Regions from separate parts of the Homo sapiens genome. Here all the other regions are linked to region 1. Evidence: promoter capture Hi-C in 16 types of primary human blood cells and fetal thymus (Javierre and others, 2016). All regions are on one chromosome and are shown on one strand. Each heading gives the region's core, a stretch centred on a gene start or on the middle of the fragment in contact. The rest is flanking DNA. Distances are from core to core; before and after follow the strand shown.

What was found. The method cuts DNA at HindIII sites, captures the fragments that hold promoters and counts their contacts. A CHiCAGO score of 5 or more calls a contact.
Region 2: a contact is called between a fragment that was not itself captured here and the fragment with the promoter of OMA1 in region 1, in 1 of 17 cell types (total B cells). The highest score is 6.5, in total B cells.
Region 3: a contact is called between the fragment with the promoter of TM2D1 here and the fragment with the promoter of OMA1 in region 1, in 1 of 17 cell types (total B cells). The highest score is 5.1, in total B cells.

Annotation. Positions count from the first base shown.
Region 1 is chr1:58,544,991-58,548,983 of GRCh38, forward strand. OMA1 (OMA1 zinc metallopeptidase) reads right to left here and starts at 1,736. Exons shown (of 9, transcript NM_145243.5): 1 at 1,713-1,736. It also overlaps a transcript of DAB1 not described here. RefSeq lists enhancers at 1,145-1,771, 1,985-2,174 and silencers at 1,385-1,474, 1,485-1,584. The HindIII fragment of the contact is 5,811 bases long and covers 909-3,993 here.
Region 2 is chr1:63,523,117-63,527,109 of GRCh38, forward strand. EFCAB7 (EF-hand calcium binding domain 7) reads left to right here and starts at 409. Exons shown (of 14, transcript NM_032437.4): 1 at 409-518; 2 at 2,456-2,643. The coding sequence starts at 2,457. It overlaps ITGB3BP (integrin subunit beta 3 binding protein), which reads right to left and starts at 109. Exons shown (of 9, transcript NM_014288.5): 1 at 13-109. The coding sequence starts at 17. RefSeq lists enhancers at 1-131, 293-372. The HindIII fragment of the contact is 1,809 bases long and covers 945-2,753 here.
Region 3 is chr1:61,723,891-61,727,883 of GRCh38, forward strand. It overlaps TM2D1 (TM2 domain containing 1), which reads right to left and starts at 1,251. Exons shown (of 7, transcript NM_032027.3): 1 at 1,067-1,251. The coding sequence starts at 1,230. RefSeq lists enhancers at 553-1,240, 697-1,896, 933-1,592, 1,241-1,926. The HindIII fragment of the contact is 25,050 bases long and covers 1-3,993 here.

The DNA of each region.
Region 1 (3,993 bases), core at 486-2,985:
CTGCGAAGTGTTGGGATTACAGTCATGAGCCACCACGCCTGGACTTTCGTTGGTTTTCCATGGCTTCCACAAACTCCTTCATATGGCGAACCAGGCCCTCCTACTACTTCTCCAGGCACCTTCCCCAACCCTCCTTCACCCATTCCTAAATTCCAAACTCCCTGATTTACTTACACCCCACAGAAAAAGAAAGCTCTCATCTCTATGTCTATGCACATCTATTCACACTGCTTAGCTCTGCACATGACAAGCAAACTCCTTCTCATTTCTCATGACTTGTGTAAAAATTTTAAAAGAATCCTATTGACACAGAAGGTATAAGCAAAAGCCCCAACACTACGCATATATAATTAAAACCATTATCATTTCTATCACTGACAACCAAGTGTCGTTTTGAATAGAAACAGTGCCTGATATTTTGTAATACCCGGTTTATCCTGAAGAAAGGGTAAAGAATGAGGGAAGAAATCTATTCATGCATTTTCAAGGAGCCAATCACTAGACTACAGAGCACATAAGAAAAAAAAAAATCAGGGCTGACATATTCTCTTCAAAGAGCTGTGGCAGGTCAACAAACATAGCTGGCAGACTTCTAGGATAACAAAATTAATGATGTGAGAAAATTAAACAATTTGGATTGTTAGCCTCTACGAACATTTCAGATCCTTAATTCTTTAAGTACCATCTCCGAATGAGCAAGTGCAGCACTCACTGGCACTCACAGCTGAAGCCTGGAAGACAGTTTTAACAACTCTTGCTGAAAATGACTATTTCTTCTCTAGTTTCTATGGAAACAGCTGTCAGATTGGCAAAAATAGGACATGTACTTTAAAATAATCATTCAAGCAAAGTACACACATGATGGAAGGCTTTAAAAAAGAATTGGACGGCAGCAGACTTGGTTCTTAAGCTTCCAAATGTCAGACTACACCCCTTCACCCCGGCTGAGAATGACGGAGATGAACCTAAATCCTTTTAGCGAGGGTTGCACGACCTTGATCAACGCCTGAATGCCAAATAAGGGATTTTCATCTCCCTGGACTACAATTTCTTGTTGAGGATTGCACGGCACAATAAAACTGTTGCTCCACACACAGGCGACATTTAAACAGTATACAGTGAGTTCTGTAGACGAGTTTACGAGGAAATTGTTAAAACTCCCCGGAACTGCTTAGACGGGGAATGTTCTGGTTTGCCCTGCCGAGTTTAGGCTGGAAAACGTGTTCAGTTTCTCCTGAAGAGGGAAGGGGTGAAAGAGACGAATGCCCGACGCGCCGGGAGGCGGTCCCCTCTGGCAGAGGTGCCGGGTGAGGAGCCCGAAGCCCCGCGGGTGAGAAACCCTGCTCTGAAAGCGGAGCCGCGGATAAGGGCGGGCTGAGGGGGAGGGCAGGCGGCCCACGAAAGTACTGCCACGGGGCAGACACACGGGGTCACCGGCGTGCCCCGGGCAAGGCTAGGGGAGAACCGGGCTCCCCCAGGACAGATCCCCTCCGTCTCCCGCCCCGGCGCCCCCCGCCCCTCCCCTCCACGCAGCCTTATCGCCCACCCACGCCTCCTCCCGTACCCCCATCCCCAAGGATCCCCACTCCTTGCCCGGGCGCCCCCGCAGGCGCTCTGCGCTCCGCCCCCTCCCCACTGCCGCACTCTGCCTCCTCCCCTGGGCACGATCCTACTCGGAAAAGCTGGGGAAAAGCGTCACCGTGAGGACTGACTCAAGCAGAAGCGAAAGCGGTGACACCGCAGACCCGACCTATGCGCAGGCGCGCACCCGCACTTCCTGCCCGCCATACCGGCCGGGGCGCCCTTCGCTCCGCCCACACCCGGCAGTCAATACAGCCGCCCAGAGTCGTTCTCCCAGCTGCCCCGGGCCCCGCGGAGACTGTGGCGCTCTAGCGCCTCCGTGTGGCTTAAGGCGGGACATGGCCCTGGGCTGGGCTGCTTGCCTAGGAACAACTTTCTCCCGTCTTTGGTGAGTTGGGTCCTCTAAAGAATGATCCACGCAAGGCTGTGTCCGTTGTAGTCTCTACGGCAGTACCGGCCAAAAGGGAAGAGACTCGAAGACTGCCAAAAGACGAAGGCTTCCTGGTTCTGAATCTGCATTCATAGAAATAGTCTTTGGAGTATGGGAACAGTGCTTTCATATGATTTTTGGAGGGACGCATTTTAAGAAAGATGAAGTATAATCTTAAGTGTCTGGAGGTTAAAGTAGCTGGCTCCAAAATTATGTGTATAGTATGTTTCATTCATTTCACCAAAACATATTTCTTGAGCATCAACTACATTTTAAGTGCCAAGGATGTAGCAGTGAACAAGACAGACCTGAATTTCGTGAACTTTATATCACAGTGAGGAAAGACAGGCGATTAAAAAAAAGTGTACAAATAAACACAAATAAATAAAAGTGTACAAATAAGCCAGTACAAATAAACACTGGATTGTGATGGATGAGTAGTGAGGTCTCATATTAGTTTATTATGTTTACACTCTGTGCACAATGAAAACATCTCAAAGGACATAAACACTATGTCAAAGGACATAAACACTATGAACAATTTTAGGTATCTCTTTTGGAAAATGTGTAAGTTACTGTTTCGTTTATCTTATGTGTATTTTATGATTTGCCTTTTACTTTGAAAGGGATATCCTGGAAAACCCCTGACAACTGGACCCCTAAAAACTGAAGTAGGAGGTCCTTCAGTCTTCGTAGGGTTTATCTCCCAAACTCTGGAGTGCACATGTCTTACCAAAGTTTCCAGCATGCTAGCCACCTCTTGCTCATCTTGCCTGGTTAGCATAATGTCATTGGTGAAATAGATGGGTGTGATGTTCTCTGGAATTTCCAGTTGATCCAGCTCCTTTTGGACTGCGCAGAGCCATTATGTCATTATCCTGGGTCCACCTGATTTCCAAAGGGGCCAGACTGGCAAGTTAAGTAGAGATATGGCAGGGATGACCAACCACTCTTGTATATTTCAGGTCTTTAATTATGACATTAATCTCCACCATCATCTCACTATCCCCTCAGATGAAATATCGGTTTTGATTTATTATCTTCACTTGGAAAGAAGGACAGCTTCAGAGGCTTCCCATTGGCTTTCCCCACCATGATAACTCAAGACCAAGGACCCTGAGCTTCTTACCAATGTGGAGATTGCTCCAGCTGCCCAATATGTACTCCCAATTATGCACTCAGGAACTAAGAAAATGACTACTGGATGGGTCAGTGTATTCCTGGACCCACTGTAAGCTGGACATTATCCAGGACTCTGCTTATTACCTGATCCCCATAAGCCCCCACACTTAGAGAGGAGCCATGTGTGTTACATACTTTGGGTAACACCTGTGAAATGTCTGGGTATTCCTCTTTCCTCAACATAAAATCAGTCAAGAAAATGGCCGTGGGACACAGACCAAAGAGTAATCATTAATTACAGTAAATATTTGTTTCAGTATTGCAGGATTCTTCTTTATAGGGACCCAACAACCTCTTAAGTCAACAGATTCTGTGGTCTCAGTGTGAAGATAGGCTCAGGTCTGAGACTTGAGCAATGAGCAGTGCCTTTTATTAAGCAACTACTCCCTGCATAGGATAAATAGCTTCTTGTCTTCCTCCAGTTGTAGATGTTAGGCAACACTCTTGTTGGCTGCCCGTCTGTTTTTCCCCTAGGGAGACCTTATGCTATTAAAGCCCTCCACAACCTCCTGTGGATCAAGCCCCCTTGGCTGCTCCTCTGCCCTTGGCAGATGTTACAGTAATTACATCTTCTGGTGTCCTCATGGTTAAAGCCACCACCTGGCTTCTACTACTTCAGGATCCTGTTATCCCAATGGATATTATCAAGCCCAGCCCTGTGATTGCCTCTCCTACCGTCAGCCCTTCCCTCCAGAGGAGAGCCTTCTCTGAACTTCTTAGTGATGCTAGTGCCCCTCACGCCAGTGCATTCCCCATGGCCATAGAATATGATGCATCCTCTGGGCCTCCCATGGAACATT
Region 2 (3,993 bases), core at 599-3,098, 5.0 Mb after region 1:
GGAGATACCTACGGCATTCTGAGATTCGGGAAAGCACCACTGCCGCTGAATAAAACGAACCCAGCAACTTCCGAAAACAGAAAATCCGCCAAAGGAAACGCCAAGGCATGAAAAGCGCGCGCTGGACGTTGCGTCAAGCCCACCGCGGCCGGGCGGAAACATCCTCCCCGCGACGAAGGATCCGGGTGTGCGCGAGCAAAGGAGCGAGCGGGGAGTTCTAGGCCCAGGACAGCACCTATTTCCTGCTGGTGTAACAGAGCACCTTCTCTCACTACTCTGGCCATACCACCCCCGCGATAGAGGAGCAACACAGCTGTCTCTGTGCGCTCCGGATCAGCGCTTCCTAGATTTCTAGCCGGATCGTTTGGAGAAGGGCTCTGCATCTTATTTCCGGTGGCGGTGAGGTGCAGTTGCCATGGTGATTAGAGAAAGGCCGAGATCTGTCCAGCTGCGGTGAGAGGAACGCTGAATCGCCGAAGAGAATTGGCTGCGCTTCCTTGTTTGTGAGCTAGAATTAGGTAGCAAACAGCTCGCTGTCTCTGTCTCTTCGCTCCCTCTGTCCCTCTCTGTGCAGCTGCTTCTCCTTCCTCTGCTTTGTCTACTTCTCTGTCATAAACATTTGGTCCATGTATGTACCTAAAATGTACATGTAAATGCGGTTTTATTTCCAGAGGAATACAAAAATAGAGAGATGGTGCCCGAGATTACCTGTGACGGTATTTCACTGTGTAGGGACGGTGACTGGACGGCTTTCTGTTTTCACTTGGCCCTGTAGAAGCCTTAGGCGCTTGTTAACAGTTTATTTTTCTTGCTATTGTGTGGCTGGTTATTTATGGAGCCGTTTGCTGCAATGTACTCTCTAGGCCCCTGTCTCAGTCTCGGGCCGGAGTTTTAAGTAAGGGAGGTTTCCAAGCCTGCGGGGGGTGCAATTATATGTTTATTTAAGCTTTAGTTTGGTTTCTCGTCACAGAAAGGAAAAGAATAAAATTCTGGCACATTTCTGCCTTGGGATTTCCATGTGAGGGAGTTGCCTTGTTTGGAAAGAATATTTGAGGACGATCCTAAAATATACTTATATTTTAAAATTGCTTATTGCAAAGTGAAATTCATTCTCCCTTACTTCTTGAAACAGTTTTCTTTCACATTTGTGAGGAGATGCATGCACACATATGTGTTTAGAACTCTGATGCTTAATTATAGTATTACCAATTTGCAGTAACCAGACTGTGACACCACATCCCTGTGGGGTCCTTCTAAATCTGGTGTAATATGAAAGTGTCAGGCAGGCGGCCTGCGTATTATAAATAGGGTACTTCATCCATGATAAGCAATTATTATCTTTCTTTCCCAAGTGTAAATGATCTATATAATTCGAAAAGGTGCAAGTGATTTAGGCCTCCTGAGTAGGAATGCAATGAGTCCTGAAGGGGACCCTACCTGTGTTATCTTATTATTGAACTTGAAATATTCAATTTATTAGGTTGGAGATCTATTTTTAGAAGTCAAAGCTGGGTAGAGTAATATTGGAAGCTGTTAGACCACCAGTAGAATCTAATACCCCATAGTAACCATTGTTCAGTACTATATCCACATTAACAAAGAAGAAACTGTTCGTGAAATTTACGGCTTTTTGCCACTTACTGCTAGCTGGGTGACATTGCTACCCCTCAATTTCCTCATCTGTAAAACGGACAAAAAAATACCTGACCGCTGTAATAGGGATAAGACAAGATGTATGACAGTTCTTTAAGCTCTTATGTACAGAGGTGCTATACAAACCCCAAATATTGTTATTAATAAAGGAACACAGTAAAACTATGATAATGCTATAAATAAGACTTTTAAAATATAGCTATTTGAAATGTGGGGCTGCATTATTGAGATGTTAATGAAATGATCTTGTTGATCCTGCTGTGGAAGATGGGTGTCAACTACCACTCATATCCCGATTCTCATTATTCTGGAGTTTCTCATTATCTGCAGTTTATTTAGCACTTACTACGTGTCAAGCAATATTGTATATGCTTCACATGTATTAACTGATTTGCTCCTCTTAAAAACCTGATGAAGACTGTCATCTGACTTTCGTATTTTGAGAGAATAGATGTGTGCTCTTCCTTTGTTCAGTGATTCTTCTCTTGTGTATATCTTTGTTCTTTTGGCTATTATCACATATTTGAACAATTATATATATACATATGTATATATCTAAAATTAGAAATTAACTGCCAAAGGCTTATTCTTGTTTAATATATAATACGTCCATATACAACTATAGTATTCGTCTTTTACTTCCACATATAAAACTTTTAATATCTTGATCTTTTCATATATGTTATAAATTTTCTTCTATGTATAAAATCTTGATTCTCCTCCCTGTATTTGAAAGACATGGTGACATTTGTGTTTTAGTGACTCACATTGACAAACACATTTTTAAATTATTTTCCAATAGAATGGCGATCAGTCCACGAAGCGATGCAACTTTCTCCAGTCAGAAATCAACACCTTCAGAGAGTCCTCGAACAAAGAAATTTCCACTAACTGAAGAGGAAATATTTTATATGAATTGTAGAGCTGCCTACTTAACTGTCTTCAAAAGCAGCTTGGAAAACATTATTTCTAAAGATCAACTTTACTTAGGTAAATTTTTAAAATTTTTAAATCTTTCACCTTTTTGTTGAAAGTTAATAAATAGGTCCGAAAGACTGAAATTAGAATTACCTTGTTGAATCATCCCAGTTTCTTAGTGAAGCTTGAGCAATGGAACTACAGTAAGCTATTATGTCATATCATATAGTTACATATTCTAGGAACTACAAAATAAAACTTTCAATGTTTATACAAACTAGATGGGTAATTGAAAGCTTCTATCAATTACTACTTGCTTAAGATACTTTTAATTCTCATTTTGGTGCTTTAAGATTTATCATAATAAAATTAAAACGCTTTTGGCCTCTTAAGTCACTAGCCTGAATTTGACCCATACTGAGGAAAGTGTAAAGGATGTGTAAAAATGGGTGGAATGTCTGAAAAAGTGAAGTACTGAGAGATAAGTGAACTTTTAAAAGAGAATTGAGTTGGGGTTTTTTTATTTCTTATTTTTATTTTTTGTTTTGTCTTTTATTGCTTCTGTCCTTTATCACATTTAAAAATTCCTCTCATTACAAAGGTCCCCAAAACCACCAAATTTGGTTCTTTCCAGGAGTATCAAATGATTTGGACATCTTTAGTCATGAGAGAGTAGTAAACAACAGTACTAGATAACACTGACTACTCATGTCAGTTTCATCAAGGCTAATAACTTTATGGGTAGAGAAACTGAGTTATTTTGCCAATTTTATAATGAATTTTCTTAAACCAAAACCCTGACATATTTGTGCAGCAGTGTCTTGAGTTTGTATCCAATAAGATCTATTTGAGGAAATGTATTTTGAGGAATACAAGAATTGACAAGATTAAAATTTATTTGATGTCTAAATAAAATACATTATTTGTAAAGTAGTTTAAATGCAAATGCACATGACTGACTTTTAAAGTCATGTTTAATTTTGATTTACATAATTTTAAAATTACTAAAATGCTCTATTTTGAATTTTAAGTATTTGTGTTTAATTCATATACATTAAATGTTTAGGCAGACATCCAATAAATTTTTTTTTTTTTGAGACGGAGTCTTGCTCTGTCTTCCAGGCTGGAGTGCAGTGGCGCGATCTTGATTCACTGCAGCCTCTGCCTCCTGGGTTCCAGCGATTCTCCTGCCTCAGCCTCCTGGGTAGCTGAGATTACAGTTGCACGCCACCATGCCTGGCTAATTTTTGTATTTTTAGTAGAGACGGGGTTTTGCCATGTTGGCCAGGCTGGTCTCGAGCTCCTGACCTCAGGTGATCTGCCTGCCTCGGCCTCCCAAAGTGCTGGCATTATAGGCGTGAGCCACCACGCCTGGCCAATAAATTAAAATTACTTCTAATTTGCCATTATTTCTAAAATAAT
Region 3 (3,993 bases), core at 1-2,500, 3.2 Mb after region 1:
GAGGCTGCTAGTTTGTCCAAGTCAATAAGCATATGTACAAATATACTTTTAGTATTGCTAAGTAATACTTGAGGCAGGAGGATCACTGGAGCCCAGGAGTTTGGGAAGAACAGCCTGGGCAACATAACGAGAAGTCTGTCTCTACAAATAATATAATAATACATAAACATTACAATAAACCTTTAAATTTGCCCCATAATTATCCACGTTTTTACTCATGAGAAAACAGAGTTCAAATAGGTCACCCAAGGTTGCAAAGTGCAACAGAAATTTATCCACTGAGTCCCCACGCGGTGGTTCATGGTGAGGGGGATGCGGATCGCTTGAGACCAGGAGTTCAAGACCAGCCTGGCCAACATGGCGTAAACCCCGTCTCTACTAAAAATACAAAAATTACCCGGGTGTGGTGGCGCATGCCTGTAGTCCCAGCTACTCAGGAGGCTGAGGCAGGAGAATTGACTGAACCCGGGAGGCGGAGGCTGCAGTGAGCTGAGATCGTGCCACTGTACTCCAGCCAGGGCGACAGAGTAAGACCCTGTCTCAAAAAAAGAAAACAGAAAGAAATTTGTCTGGCAGTCTACCATCTCATGAAGTTTGAAGATGACATGAGGTAATATGCATAATATACATAAAGTTAATGATAAATGGGCAACACATTGGCTAGATCGTTATTACTTGTCTTCCCCCTAGGAAGAGTTGGCAAACATTTCCAGGGTAAGAGACTATCCATCTTTGTATTACTAGTGTCTAGAACGGGGCCTGGCATACTTCAGGATCTACATGTTTTACTGAACAAGTAAGCACACTGATAAAAAAGAAAAAAAAAGTGGATCAGAAGAGGAAGCGCCAATGACTAGTAAAATCATAAGGAAATCACAAAGGGTGGCCTCTGGCCCTCCCATCTCCACAACTCTGTTCACCTTCAGGGATCCTTCAGTCATTAGAAGCCACAGATCAGATTATCGTTTTCACTCAGTACAGCCCTAGCCAGTCCTGACGGCAGCGACCCACCTGCGACCCCAACTCTACCTCGCCTCCATGGGGGGGTGTTCTCCACAGAGGATATTGTCCCACTTTGAGGTCCTCGCACTTAAGCGACTCCTCGCCCCCGGCGGAGGTGGCAACAGCCCCCCAGGGTCCTGTAGTGACTGAGACGAACCACAGGACACCAACGAGTCTGGCCGTCACGGCCTCCGGAGCAGACGGACCAGACGGCCAGGCGGCCGCCATCTTGGAGACCGACACTTTCTCGCCACTTCCGCTTCCGCCTCCGCCCAGGAGCGGGAGGGAGAAGGGCAACAGGGCGAGGTTCTTAAAGGGACCTCGCATAGGATAGAGGCCAGTTCCGTCTCTTCGCGTGTTCTTCTGCCCGTGAGCCCGTGGAATCACATTGGGAGACCCTTTTAAAATATGCATGTACCCAGTCCCTCGAGGCGAATTTTCCCCCACGAACCCTTGGAAGGAGCTAAGGTTAATCTTTGAGTGCTGGAGGAAGGAAACGAGTGGTTTAGGCAATCAGGTGCTTCACCCGCTTCTCATTCCCGCGCCCTTAGCTGAGGCTTCTCGGTCCTCTGAAAGTGCCAGCGGCGTCAGAGGTTGGAATCAATGCTTTCCTGACATCATCGCAGTTAGCCCTGATAGGTTTTGGGTTTACAGATAAGGAACAAGGCTCAAAGACGCTGAAACACACTGACCTTAATCACTAAGTGACTCAGTCGGAATGAAATTGATGTTTGCCAGATTTCAGATCTATGCTCTTACTAATTGACATAATGTCCTCCTGTAACTTTAGAGAAGGATTTTGGAAGGCTGCCACGAACAGAACTTAAAAACTGTGAGAGACATTACGCCTTTTAAAAAAAAAAAGTGACAATTTAGGTGGGGGATAATTTGGGGGGTGGAAACTGTAACAAGAGGAAACCAAATAGTTTATGATTAAGTGAAAAGTTGAAGATTTTTTTTCCTCCATCTGTTGTTTTTAAATTTCTATATGTTCTAAAAGTTCTGTGGTGGGGAACTTTAACAGTGAGGAAAAAATGTTTTCGTAAAGTTAAGTTTAATCTTTTTTTTGTCTAACAATATAAAAATTTGAACTTGAGTGGTGCTTCTTCATCCATACTTTAGCACTAACTTTGGTGGTTCTCAAACTTTGAATAGCATCTGAATCACCTGTAGTAGTTATTAAAACAGAATGATAGAACCGGCACTCAGAGTTTCTGATACAAAAGATGTAGGGAGGGACTGGATAATTTCCATTTCTAGGAGATCCCAAGGGATGTGGGTGTTGCTAGTCCAGGGACCCCCACTTTGAGAACACTGGTATAATGTTTTACGAGAAGTAAATTTTTTTTTTTAAGATGGAATCTCTCTCTGCCACCCAGGCTGGAGTACAGTGGCAGAATCTCAGCTCACTGCAACCTCTGCCTTCTGGTTCAAGTGATTCGCCTGCCTCAACCTCCTGAGTAGCTGGGACTGCACGCGTGCGCCACCACGCTCAGCTAATTTTTGTATTTTTAGTAAAGACAGGGTTTCACCATTTTGGCCAGGCTGGTCTCGAACTCCTGGCCTAAGTGATCTGCCCGCCTCTGCCTCCTAAAGTGCTGGGATTTCAGGTGTGAGGCCACACTGTGCCTGGCCTCATTTTGGAATATATATTCTGGAAGACATACAACTATTTGAAGTAATATTTAAACATAAACTACGTTTTTAAATTTTCTTTTTTTGAGGTGGAGTTTCACTGTTGTTGCCCAGGCTGGACTGCAATGGCATGATCTCGGCTCACTGCAACCTCCGCCTCCCAGGTTCAAGCTATTCTCCTGTCTCAGCATCCGGAAAGGCTGGGATTACGGCGCCCACTACCAGCCCAGCTAATTTTTGTATTTTTAGTAGAGACGAGGTTTCACCATGTTGAGCAGGCTGGTCTCGAACTCATGACTTAAGGTGATCCACCCGCCTCTGCCTCCCAAAGTGCTGGGATTACAGGCGCGAGCCACGGCGCCTGGCCCTAAAATTTTCATAATAAAACAACTTTGTAGCATTACTATGCTTTATTCATTCATTCATTTAGAGACAGAAATGGAGTTGAGACGGGAGTTTTGCTCTTGTTGCCCAGGCTGGAGTGCAATGGCACGATTCTCGCTTACTGCAAACTCCACTTCCCAGGTTCAAGCTATTCTCCTACCTCAGCCTCCTGAGTAGCTGGAATTACAGCCATGAGTCACCACGCCTGGCTAATTTTGTATTTTTAGTAGAGACGGGGTTTCTCCATGTTGATCAGGCTAGTCTCCAACTTCCGACCTCAGGTGATCCACCCGTCTGAGCCTCCCAAAGGTCTGGGATTACAGGCATGAACCACCACGCCCCGCTGCTATTTTTTGAGATGGAGTCTCGCTCTGTCATCCAGGCTGGAGTGCAGTGGCACGATCTTGGCTCACTGCAACCTCTGCCTCCCGGGGTCAAGCAATTCTCCTGCCTCAGCCTCCTGAGTAGCTGGGATTACAGGCGCACGCCACCACGCGCAGCTAATTTTTGTATTTTTTAGTAGAGACAGGATTTCACCATGTTGGTCAGGCTAGTCTCGAACTCCTGACCTCGTGATCCGCCCGCCTTGGCTTCCCAAAGTGCTGGAATACAGGCGTGAGCCACCGCGCCCCGCCGCTATTTTTAATTTAAGACATTTATACATAATATTTATGCTTTAAATCAGGTTTAAATGATTTAAGTGAAAAATTTAGTAGTTCAGTTATAAACTTCCTATTCTAAATGGACTTCTTCCTTCTCTCTTTTTTCTTCCTTCGTTTTTCCTTTCTTTCCTTTTTTTCCGTCCTCCCTCTCCCTCCAAAAAGGAAAAAAAAATTGTTTTTAATTGAGCATTTACTATGTACTCAGCATGAAGCTAGACCCTAGACTCAAAAATTTAGACAAAAACCCTGCAGGTAAGCACTTCCTGTTTGGTAAGGGAAAATACAAACAGTTAAATACTATTTGATAAGT